Linked DNA regions of Homo sapiens: regions 1 and 3 are each linked to region 2. The links are contacts of gene promoters, found by promoter capture Hi-C in human tissues and cell types (Jung and others, 2019). All regions are on one chromosome and are shown on one strand. Each heading gives the region's core, a stretch centred on a gene start or on the middle of the fragment in contact. The rest is flanking DNA. Distances are from core to core; before and after follow the strand shown.

Region 1 (3,349 bases), core at 670-3,169, 1.2 Mb before region 2:
GTAGAATAAGGGCAAAATACTTACTCTTTTAATCCATTAAAGCTTAAGGTTTTTTAAAAGTTACTTTTCATGAACAGAAATATTTTGATGGGCATATGTTATATTACAGACACTATACAAGGCATATTACTTACATTATACAATTTAATCTGTACAACAATGTTGCAAGTTATGTACTTTTATTTCCATTCTTATATAGACATTAAACATATCACACAGTGTTCAAATTACCTTTTGCTTTATAACAAACAAACCTAAAACCTAGTGAATTGAAACAATTTATGATTATCTCTCAAGGTTCTATAGTTGTCTTGGTATCATCTGGGCAGTTCTAAACTGGTTCTTTCATGTTATGGCAGTCAGATATTGGCTGGGACTACAATCATTGAAGGCTTGACTCAGCTGGCATCCAAGATGGCTCATGAACATGACTGGCAATTAGTGCTGGTTTGGGGCTGGGAAATCACCAGGGTTGTCAACTAAAACTCCTGCATGTGGCTTGTTTAGGTGACTTGGACATTTCAATCATGATAGCTGGAGTGCTTGACAGAGGATTACACAAGACACAAGGAGAAGCTTTAGGTCTTATTATGGCTTACTCTTGAAAGCCCAAGGATGTATTTTTCACTGCATTCCACTAGTAAAGAAAGTTGTTAAGACCAGCTCAGGCTTAAGGGGTGGATAATTTGACACAAGGCACAACATGCTTGCACAAGAAGAAAAGGAATGCACAGTGGCCATCCTTGGAGTCTTATATGTTATATGCAATTTATAAAATACAATCCTTTTCCTTGGTAAGATTATCATATGTAAGAGCTTTACAAGCTTTCATGAAAATAATCTACTTACGGGGGCAGGGATTGAAGCTGGGCAGAGCATGGTGGTTGATATGCTTTTGTGTAGGTCAAGATGGGTGAGATTATGTGTGAAAGTATACCAGCCCCAAACCACAGTCTTAACACAATAAATTTACTTTTTGTTTACACTCTGTGTACAAAATTGTTGAAATGGGAATCTGCTTATTATAATCACTCAGGGATTTAAACAGATGAAGTTTCATCTCATTAGACTGTACCTTTTGAACATTTTCAGTATCAGCAGAGCAGAAGAAGAAAACGCAGGACATTATATTCTTAATTATAAAGCTTCCATCTGGGAGTGAAAAACATCATTTTTCTTACCTCCCATTGGCCAATGCAAACCATATGGCCCTGTCTAAATTCCTGCTATGTGCCCATAAGGTATGTCAGAATATTTGAAATAGCTCTAATACCTCCACACCATGTTATCTGAATTCTTATATATTAGGACCAGATTGAATTTAGATAAAGCAGGGAAACTGAAAATCATCTTTATCTTCTGGGTCTCATATTTCTTTCAATGTACATTAATTTTCAAAGGCCATTACATTTGCTGAGTGTAATAGGCACAATTATTATATTTATATTTGATATCACATACAATTTACAGCTGGGTAAGTTCATATATAGTTACGTAAATTGATGTCTATAAGTTATATGTGGAGTTTTCACATACCTATAATTTCTGATTTTTTTTTTTCACTTCAATTTAGGTAGAGGGGTTAATATTTGTTCTGGTTTGTCAATCTAAAAGTAGAGTCAAAAAATAAAATGATTGGCTTTAGATTATATCGCACAGTTCTTTGACCCTCAAACAAGACATTTACTTCTGTACCAGGGATCCTGTACTTGTACTTGGAGTCTTAGTGAGGGTTCAAATTATCCATGAAGCCTGTAAACTTGCCGCATTGTGTATGTGAGTGTGAGTGTGTGTGTGCATGTGTGTGTGCTAGGTCTGTGTGTGTGTTCTTTTTTGAGTGGCTTAGGTTCACTATACCACAGCATTGTTGCAAACAATTAATAGGTAAATGGACATTTGAGACTGAGATGCCATTAATTCATCTGATTTCTACACATATAGTAGGTCTTAACATCAAAAGGTTGATGAATTGTTTAAAGAAAAACATGATGGGGCTTCCTAGACCTCCTCATTTAACAGATTTCATACTTGGGCTTCTTGCTGAGCCTTTTCTTCTGCCTCTTGCCATTGATTGTAAAAATCGAAGCTTCCTTCACGGGAAGCACTGAACAAGACATTCCATGTTTTCAGTGTAAAGTCCATCATTTCCAGCGTGGCTCACATCTCAGTGGGTGACAAAACTTCCTGATGTCCTGGAAAAGCTCTGCAAGTACTCAGGCCCTTGCCCACTTATTTCAGATCACTGGTTTGTTACCATTAAGTAAGCATTTTTATTTTAAATCTCTATTTACATTTATCAGGGCCCTTTCAGCTCAATTTGCAAAATGATGATTTGTATATATCTAAAACAGTACATCATGGGGTTCAGGTCATTTGCATTCCACAGTCATTTACTGAATACGTACTTTTTGCAATACAGCCATACAAGAAGTCACAAGCATAAGGCACGGGTCATGTCAGTCTTGCATATATGAAATCTAAACATCAGTATACATAAGCAAATATGGTATAGAGGAGTCAAACTGGCCTGGTTTGAATATCTTTTTCTGCTAGCTCTATGACTTAACTTTCTTGAGTTTCAGTGATTTCAACTATAAAGATGAGGCAACTGAGACCTATTAGAGAGTTATTTTGAAGATATAATGTAAAATGTCACATCAAATTGGGGGTAACACAGGTAAAAATACACAAATTAGGGGACGTGCATGACCTATTCAGGGAATAAATTTTGAGTATAAAATATAGGGAAGTTATAAGCAAAAGTGAGGCCAGAGAGAGAAACCAGGATCTTAAATCTCAAACTCACCCATTTGGACTTCATCCTGAAGTTAAAGAAAAGCCAATAAAAGGTTGAGAAAAGATTAAAAAGAATATAATCAACTTTTAAAAAACTTTTTATATAAAAACAATTTAATATTTGATAAGAAGTTTCAAAACTTATATTTTCAACATCCTTCATGCAGCTTACATCTTACATAACTATAGTACAATGCCAAATCGAAGAAATCAGCATTGATGTGATACTATTAAACCACAGATCTTACTCAGGTTTCACTAGGTTTTTTAAACATTTAATTAATTACTTAATTTTAAGTTTACAACTTAAAATTATATATATTTATCAAGTACAACGTGATGCTTTGAAATATGTACGCATTGTAGAATGGCTCAGTTGAGTAAATTGAACATATGTATTATTTCACACTTAACATTTCTTGTGGTGAGAACACTTAAAATCTACTGTATTAATGATTTTCAAAATATAATACATTGCTATTAAATATAGTCACTGTGTTGTACAGTAGATCTCTTGAATTTATTCCTCCTATCTAACTGAAATTGTGTGTCC
Region 2 (3,553 bases), core at 1,037-3,536:
TACAAATACATGTTTGCTTTTATCTCTCCCCAGAATATGAACACATGTGTGTGTGTGTGTGTGTGTGTGATTGATATATATATATATATATATATCTTCCTAGAATATATGTGTACATTTTTTAGGCCAAATATATTTCTACTTTTTTCCCCTAAGAGGGCTTTTCAGCGGCCCCTCCGTGCTGAGCTAGACAAGAGGCTGTGTCCCAGCGTCACAGCCCTTGTCTTCTCCTAGCCTCCCTGCCTGAGAGCAGAACGGCTGCCGCTTACCTTGAGAAAGTAACAGCTGCCGAGTCTGGAAGCCATGCTAACAGCAGTAAAACTCAGCATTTTTGCTGAGTAGGGCAAGCCTTTAAGAGGCAGCTGGGAATCAAATCAATGGCTGGCCCCAGAGCCCAAGCCCAACAGTACCAAGCCAGGGTGGCCAAGGGACCTACCTAAAGAGCCTCCCAGGAGATGGAGGAAAGAAGAAAGAGGGCCTTGACCCAAACTACCTTCCTGGCTGAGATTCCTCCACCGCCCCCCTGCCCTTGGCAGTATTTTGGAGCCAAGTGAGAGACGCGAGGTGCAAACCGACAGCAGTTTAAGTCAATTACTGCCACATTCTGTCATGGGTTCCACACTCACAGCCCCTTTTCAAATTGTAGATCTCCCTCAGTACTGAAACACTCTCTCTCTCTGTCTCCCTCTCTCTCGCTCTTGCTCTCTCTCTCTCCCTCTCCACCTCTCTGCCTTCTCTCAATATCCCCCTAACTCCAGGGGAGCCATGGAGAGGCATATTTAGGGAGAGACTCTCTGGGGGCTTCCCCGCCTGAAATGGGGAAAGAAAGACGAATCTGTCTTAGGAAAGTGCCCCATCCATCTCCTTCCATATCATCCACAGCCGCCCCAGATGAAATTTCCTCTGAGACCCTTTGCAACTGTGATGGATGAGCAAGTCCCCGAGGACGCTTTCTCCTTTCCCCTGAGGGGGATCCATGCAAACTTGCCAGATCCTCCCCAAAACCAACAGAAGCCGGAGGGGCTCTGTTGATTGCAAACGGGGATGCAGGGTAAATCCCTATCCCAGACTTTCCAAGCCCCAGATAAGGAGCCCACCGCTGACTTCCCCCTTTCTCTGTCACCCACTATCCAGTGTCTCCAAATTCCCATCAGAATCTTGGAGTCTGCCCAGTGTAGAATTTAAAGTGACAGCGTCTCATTTGCCTCGGGGGTTGGCCATGTCTCTTTCATATTAAGCTGTGGGTCCCAGTGTAGCAGGATTCCACCGTTTGGAGGAATTTTCCTTCAAGCGTACCAACATTGGGCTAAATAAGGTGCCATCTACAGCCCCATAATCCTCCCCAAACCCCAAGCCCAGAGCCCCAAGAGGAAGTCCACAGCGGGTTTCCCGGTGACTACGTGATCCTATAGTAAGGGTCCCATTCCGTGTAAGCTGGAGAGACCTAATTAAAAAGACACACGAGGGCACACATACAAACACATACGTACAAACATGCACACACACATCGCGCCGTAAGTAGGTTATAGGACCTCTCTCTCTTCACCCCTCCCTTACACACACGGACACACACACACACCACGAACACACGCATCAAACGCAAACGACGCCGCACACGCAAACACACTAGCACCACATCAAGTTCCCACCATGGTGCACACGTCGGGAGCGCGCGGGGACACACACGCCACTCACTCAAACCCGCAATTAGCCCTTTGAGCCCCAGGCACAGGAACCCCCTCCCTAGAACTGGAGAAGACTTGGAGGCGGCGGGGCGGCCAGGTGAAGAGCGGACAAGGGTGCCGGTAGGGGGAGGGGCAGAGGAGCGCGGGGACGCCCCGAATGCGGCCCGGGGCCGGGTCCAAGGGCAGCGGGGCTGCGGGGCGCTGCACCCGGCGCCGCCTTACCTGGAGTCAATGTCCGTCTTTGGCGGAGAGCTGCGGGAGGACGCTTTTTATTCGGCTCGGTGGGAACTTGGGAGAGCCCTGCGTGCAGCTCGCATTCCGGGCACGGCGCGGGGACTGCAGGCGTGGGGGTACCTGGCTCCTAGCAGCCTGGCTCATACTCAGCCGTAAAGTCCCCTTCGCTGGTCCCGAGGACAGGCATGAATCCCGGCTCCGGAAGGCGGTCACTACTCCCTCTGCCTCCCGGCTCTCTCGCTCTCGCTCTCGCTGTTGCTCGCTCGCTCTCTCCCTCTCTCGCGGGTTCGCTCGCCTGCGCTCTCCTCCTCCCCGCGCGCCAGATCAGTTTGCAGCCGTGGGGTCCGGGAGCGAGGCGGCTGGCGAATGGAGAGGGAAGTCCAAGTGCGCCGCGGTCTCCGGGCGGGGAGCGGCGGAGGCCGGGCTACGCCGGGGGAGGGACTTAGCCGGCGACGGCCGAAAATGAATGGGGGAGCGGCGGCCGGGGGGCGGGGAGGGAGGAGCTGAACGCCGGGGTTGCTTCCGAGGAGTGTTTTGTACATCTTTAGGCGGAGGAGGAGGAGAAGCGAGAGGAGGAGAGACGGGAGGCCGCCTCGAGGGAAGGGCGGCCCGGGTGGGCTGGGGCTGAGCCGTAGGGAGTTTCGTGGGTCTGGGGCGTGTAGGGTGTTGTGTCTATGCGCACGAGCATCCAAAGGGACCGCGCATACGCGCAAACCCGGAATCCTGGTGCCCTTAAGCGTGACTGTACTGTGTGTGTCGCGAGTACCTGAGTGTTTCTGGGGCGGCAGGTGTTTCCACGGCCGCGTGGATCCATCGAGTGTGGGTTTTGTCTCGGGAGTTGCCCGTGTGGGTCCGTTTGTGTCTGCGCGTCTCTCTGTGAGTGTTTGACACTGTTTGTTTCTCTCGGTGTGTAGGCGAGAGCCCACGTAACCTCCCAGAATGAAGCAAGAGCTTCTCTACGTAGGCAGGATGTAGGAGGGAGAAGCTGAGGGGACACGAAGTTCTCTGGAGACCACCAGAGGCGGGGAAGGGGCGAGGGTACAGGGACTAAGACATGAAAATAAAAAGCAAAATACTCTGCAATCAGCCTGAATGCAGGCTGGGGCTGCTAACATAGGGCCTCTTCCTGAAGCAGAAAATAAAGCCCTCGTATGATAATTCCCACACAGCGCACATTTGGTATGTTTGTTTACTTTGCTTCCCTTCTGATTTAAACCAAATCAGCAATGCAGATCCCTAGTCCCCTGAAGATTAGGCAAGAATAGAAAGCATTAAGGCTACCAGATGGAGGGGCAGGAAGTCATAGGAAAAGGTGTTGGAATATGTAAAAGAGCCAGATTCAGTAGAAGTGCAGGCTCCAGAGAGGTTGGAGTCCTGTAGCTGTCTGGTCTTGGTGAAATCACTTACCCCTTAAGCCTCAATTCCTTGTCTGTTTAATAGAATAATAATATATCTACCCATCTAATAGGGTTGATGTGGAATTGTAATGAGTTAATATATGCAAAGGCACTTAGACTGCTCATGAGTTAATGTATGCAAAGGCACTTAGACTGCTCCCTGACACCTAGTGAGTGCTCAGTGCATGTTGTCTGCTTTTATGATTGCCATTGTATGTTTTTTGTTTGTTTTTTAAT
Region 3 (3,542 bases), core at 882-3,381, 1.1 Mb before region 2:
TTCTTAAAGTCCTGCTCATATGCCTCTGCCTTCATGAAGTCTTTGCTAATCAGTTCAGTGCAAAGACTGGGCTGCCTCCTATAGACTCCTTTGCGACTCTGTGACATTGATTAGTTTTAGCATAGTTCATAGACCATTGTAGAGAGCCACTACATTGTAGCTATTAATATTATTGAAGGATATTCCCTTCCTTCAAAGATGTACACTTCACCAGGGAGATAGCAATGACACAGATGCAACACTGTATGGTTTAATCCAATTCGATATGTCCCACAGCCTAAAACATTCATTTTTTGGCACAAAGCGGCTGCTCAAATAAGAAAGGATGAAATGAATAAATAAGTCAATGAAATGATCAACATATGAATTATATTTGTCTAGCCCATTGGAGATCTCAGCCTTGCAAACATACACCTTGCCCCCCAAGGGGTGGAGTTATTTATTGTTTGCATATGACAGCACTTTGCCAAATGAACAAAAATCTGAGCTGGCTTCATTAAGAGGGATGGATATAAAGTAGGTACATGTCTGTGCTGAGCCACTGAAAGTAAAATGGGATAATTGCAGTGGTTACAATGAGGCTGATCAAGCTGAGAGAAACAAGTTTCAAATCGTTCCAATCAGTCCTAATCCAGCAGAGTTATTAACAGTGTTCTACCCTGGTGCGACTGCATCTGCTAACGTGAGATAATGATTTATATCACAGTTTATGAAAGTTCCAATTTGTCCTAATTCAATAAGTGAAACCCAGCAAGGCAGGCAGGAGACAGACATTGCACTATGGCTGGAATTCCCATTTCTTTCTCCTCTCTGCACCACCCACAGACTGTCATGGCTGATGTGCATCTGCTTGCCAGGCACCTTTTGTTGTAGTCTTAAGCTGAGGGAGACAGAGCAGGAAGTTGGAGTAAAAGTTCTCAATCACACCCTAGGTCTGAAAGATCCAGCAGGAAAGGATGTTTTGAGCAAAGATGACATGGTGGTATCATACAATTAGATGTGTCATGGAGATTTCTGAGTCTAGGAGTTCTTAATGTGGAAATCTTGAGACCTTAGGTTAGAAAGCAGTGATTCTATGAATGCTGCAAAAGTGTGTATTTATGTGTTTGCATGTGTTTGTGCAATTTTCCTTCCTCAGGAGAAAGTTCAGAGCTTTCATTAGACCTCAAATTGTTCTTGTGACCCAACAAAATTATGAACGATTGACAGGTCTAATCCACTCACTATCAAAATGAGAAAGCAGAAAGAAGGTCATTAAGATAATTTCCCTAAATCACTACTAGAGAAAGAACTGGGGATAGATTACAAGAATCCTAAAGCCAGCCAGGAAATAATTTATATGTTTGACCACAGAAAAAAACATGTGGCTTCAGCCAAGTATGGTTTCTTGGACACTGTTTTTTCTCTATCCCTTCCTCCTCCTGTCCTATTGGCAATGCTGCTCCCATTTAGACAGCCAGCTGTGTGTCTCCTTCATATCCAGAGGTATCCTCAAAAAAAAAAAAAAAAAAGGCTATTGATAGCCATAGAGACATAGAGATCACATGATGCCATAGAAAGAACAGTGCTAGCTCCAGCTTCTGGTAGACTGTCAGGCACAGAATTACACAAAATGCATATTTATTGAATGAATGAATGAATGAATGAATGAGCTGAAGGGCAGGAAAGATTGTGTACTTCTTCAACACTCTTTTTGATAATCTGAAAAATGAGATTTGTTTTCAGAATGTCTCAGCTTCCTTTGCTTTAACATTTGATGACCGTGACAGTCATTTACTTGTGACCTCATTTCCCACTATGAATTAGAGGCCTTTTTTCAAGAGATTCCATGCATCTGTGCTTAGATTGAGGATGGGAGAACTGTATATCCCCCTAACTCAAGACGGCAGCTACCTTTTCAGCTTAGCTATAACTAGCGCTCTCTGACCCTCAGTCCAAGGCAAGCAAGCTCAATATGCCAATACTGATTAACTTGTCTCATTATTAAAGTAAATAAATAAAAATGCTTGAGCGTCCTTCCTAACCAGAGCAGATTCAAGGCTCTGAAGATACAAAAGTAAATTTAAAAGGGATCCTTCCTTAAGGGATCTCACAATCTGTGCGAAGACTGATATATACCCTGCAGGCAAGGACTCAATCCTTGACTGCAGTGTACATATTTGGATTGATAAATACTGAAGTCACAGATTGAGCAGAGTGTTCAAATCATATGGAGAAAAGAGCTATGAGTCATTCTGGGTGCAGCAATGAAGGTGAAAGAAAAGCATTAACTCAGTCTTGAGGATAAATAAGTGTGAACTTACCAGAGAAGTTAAAAGGAAAATCCACAAAACTAAGATGGCCCAAGCCAAAGCATGACATTCTGAAGGCGCATTACATATTTCTGGAGTGGTGAATACTCTGGTATGAGCCTAGGATGGTGCTTGATATTTAAAGAGAGCTCAATAAATATTTCTTGAATTAGTGAGTGAATCAATAGCTAAATAATTATAATTATTAACAGTGATAGCTAGATTTATTAGATTATTATTTAGTGTCGAATTCAATATTAAGCACTTTTCATATATTGTATCACTTAATTTCCACAACAACCATAGAAGACAAGCATTGTTATTTTTTCCATTTTGTACATGAGTTTCCTAAAGCTCTGGGAGGCAGAGGAACTTTTCCAATGTCACATGGCCAGTATCAGTATCAGAATTTGGCTACAACATGACTGCATGACTTTAAATTATATGCACTTAAATTGTTTCACCTAAAGTATACAGTGTGTTGGAAAAGAGGATGGAATAAGAAATGTCTGGAAAAATACATTATGGTCATATTGTGAAGGAAGTTGAATGCAGTATTATGAAATTTGCGTTTCACCCTGTTATGAAGGGAAAGCTGTATAGAGTTTTCTAACCATCGGTAATGCAGGCCCTAAGTTGTGTTTTAGAAAGACAGTTGGAGGGTTGTGAGTCATAGGCTAAAAAGGCAAGAGTCTATATGGTGCAGAACCACTTGGGAGATATATAAATAAATCATCTTCTCCATATTATCCTGTAGCCTGCTTTTATTTTGATAAATAGTATAGCATGCATATGGTTCCACATCAGTACATCTTCATCTGCTTAAATTATCATTACTTAGAAAAAAAAATTTCACTATGAACAAATGTAAATGTAAAAAGCATGGAAAATAAAATCCTAACCCTGTGCCCCTATCATGTGCTTTTCATAATTATCAAGCCATAATTTTTGGATAAAATTATCAAATTTTATTGTCTATAACCCCCCACTGTCCATCCTACTTTGAAGCAAATTTTGAAGCAAATTCCATTCTTGACATTATATTTATTTACTCATAAATATTTCTATATTTCTTTCTTTCTTTTTTTGGTAGAGCTTGGGTCTTGTTATGTTGCCCAGGCTGATCTTGAACTCCTGGCCTCAAAGAATCCTCCCACCTCAGCCTCCAAAGTGCTGGGATTACAGATATAAGCCACCACTCCCAGACAATATATTTCTTTAAAAACCCCTTATCTTATATCCTCAATCTTG

The links. Contacts are between HindIII fragments. The study calls those that stand out against the background at their distance.
Region 1: a contact is called between a fragment that was not itself captured here and the fragment with the promoter of BRINP1 in region 2, in 1 of the 25 tissues and cell types used here (dorsolateral prefrontal cortex).
Region 3: a fragment that was not itself captured here is called in contact with the fragment with the promoter of BRINP1 in region 2 in 1 of the 25 tissues and cell types used here (dorsolateral prefrontal cortex).

The regions. Positions count from the first base shown.
Region 1 is chr9:118,150,688-118,154,036 of GRCh38, forward strand. All of the region lies in intron 3 of LOC105376247 (a long non-coding RNA gene), which reads left to right. Among named protein-coding and RNA genes, the nearest start is that of TLR4, 450 kb to the left of the region's middle. The HindIII fragment of the contact is 3,221 bases long and covers 310-3,349 here.
Region 2 is chr9:119,367,149-119,370,701 of GRCh38, forward strand. BRINP1 (BMP/retinoic acid inducible neural specific 1) reads right to left here and starts at 2,287. Exons shown (of 8, transcript NM_014618.3): 1 at 1,908-2,287. RefSeq lists enhancers at 1,686-2,207, 2,208-2,730, 2,731-3,251. The HindIII fragment of the contact is 11,628 bases long and covers 1-3,553 here.
Region 3 is chr9:118,298,288-118,301,829 of GRCh38, forward strand. No RefSeq gene overlaps it. Among named protein-coding and RNA genes, the nearest start is that of LINC02578, 380 kb to the right of the region's middle. The HindIII fragment of the contact is 4,740 bases long and covers 1-3,542 here.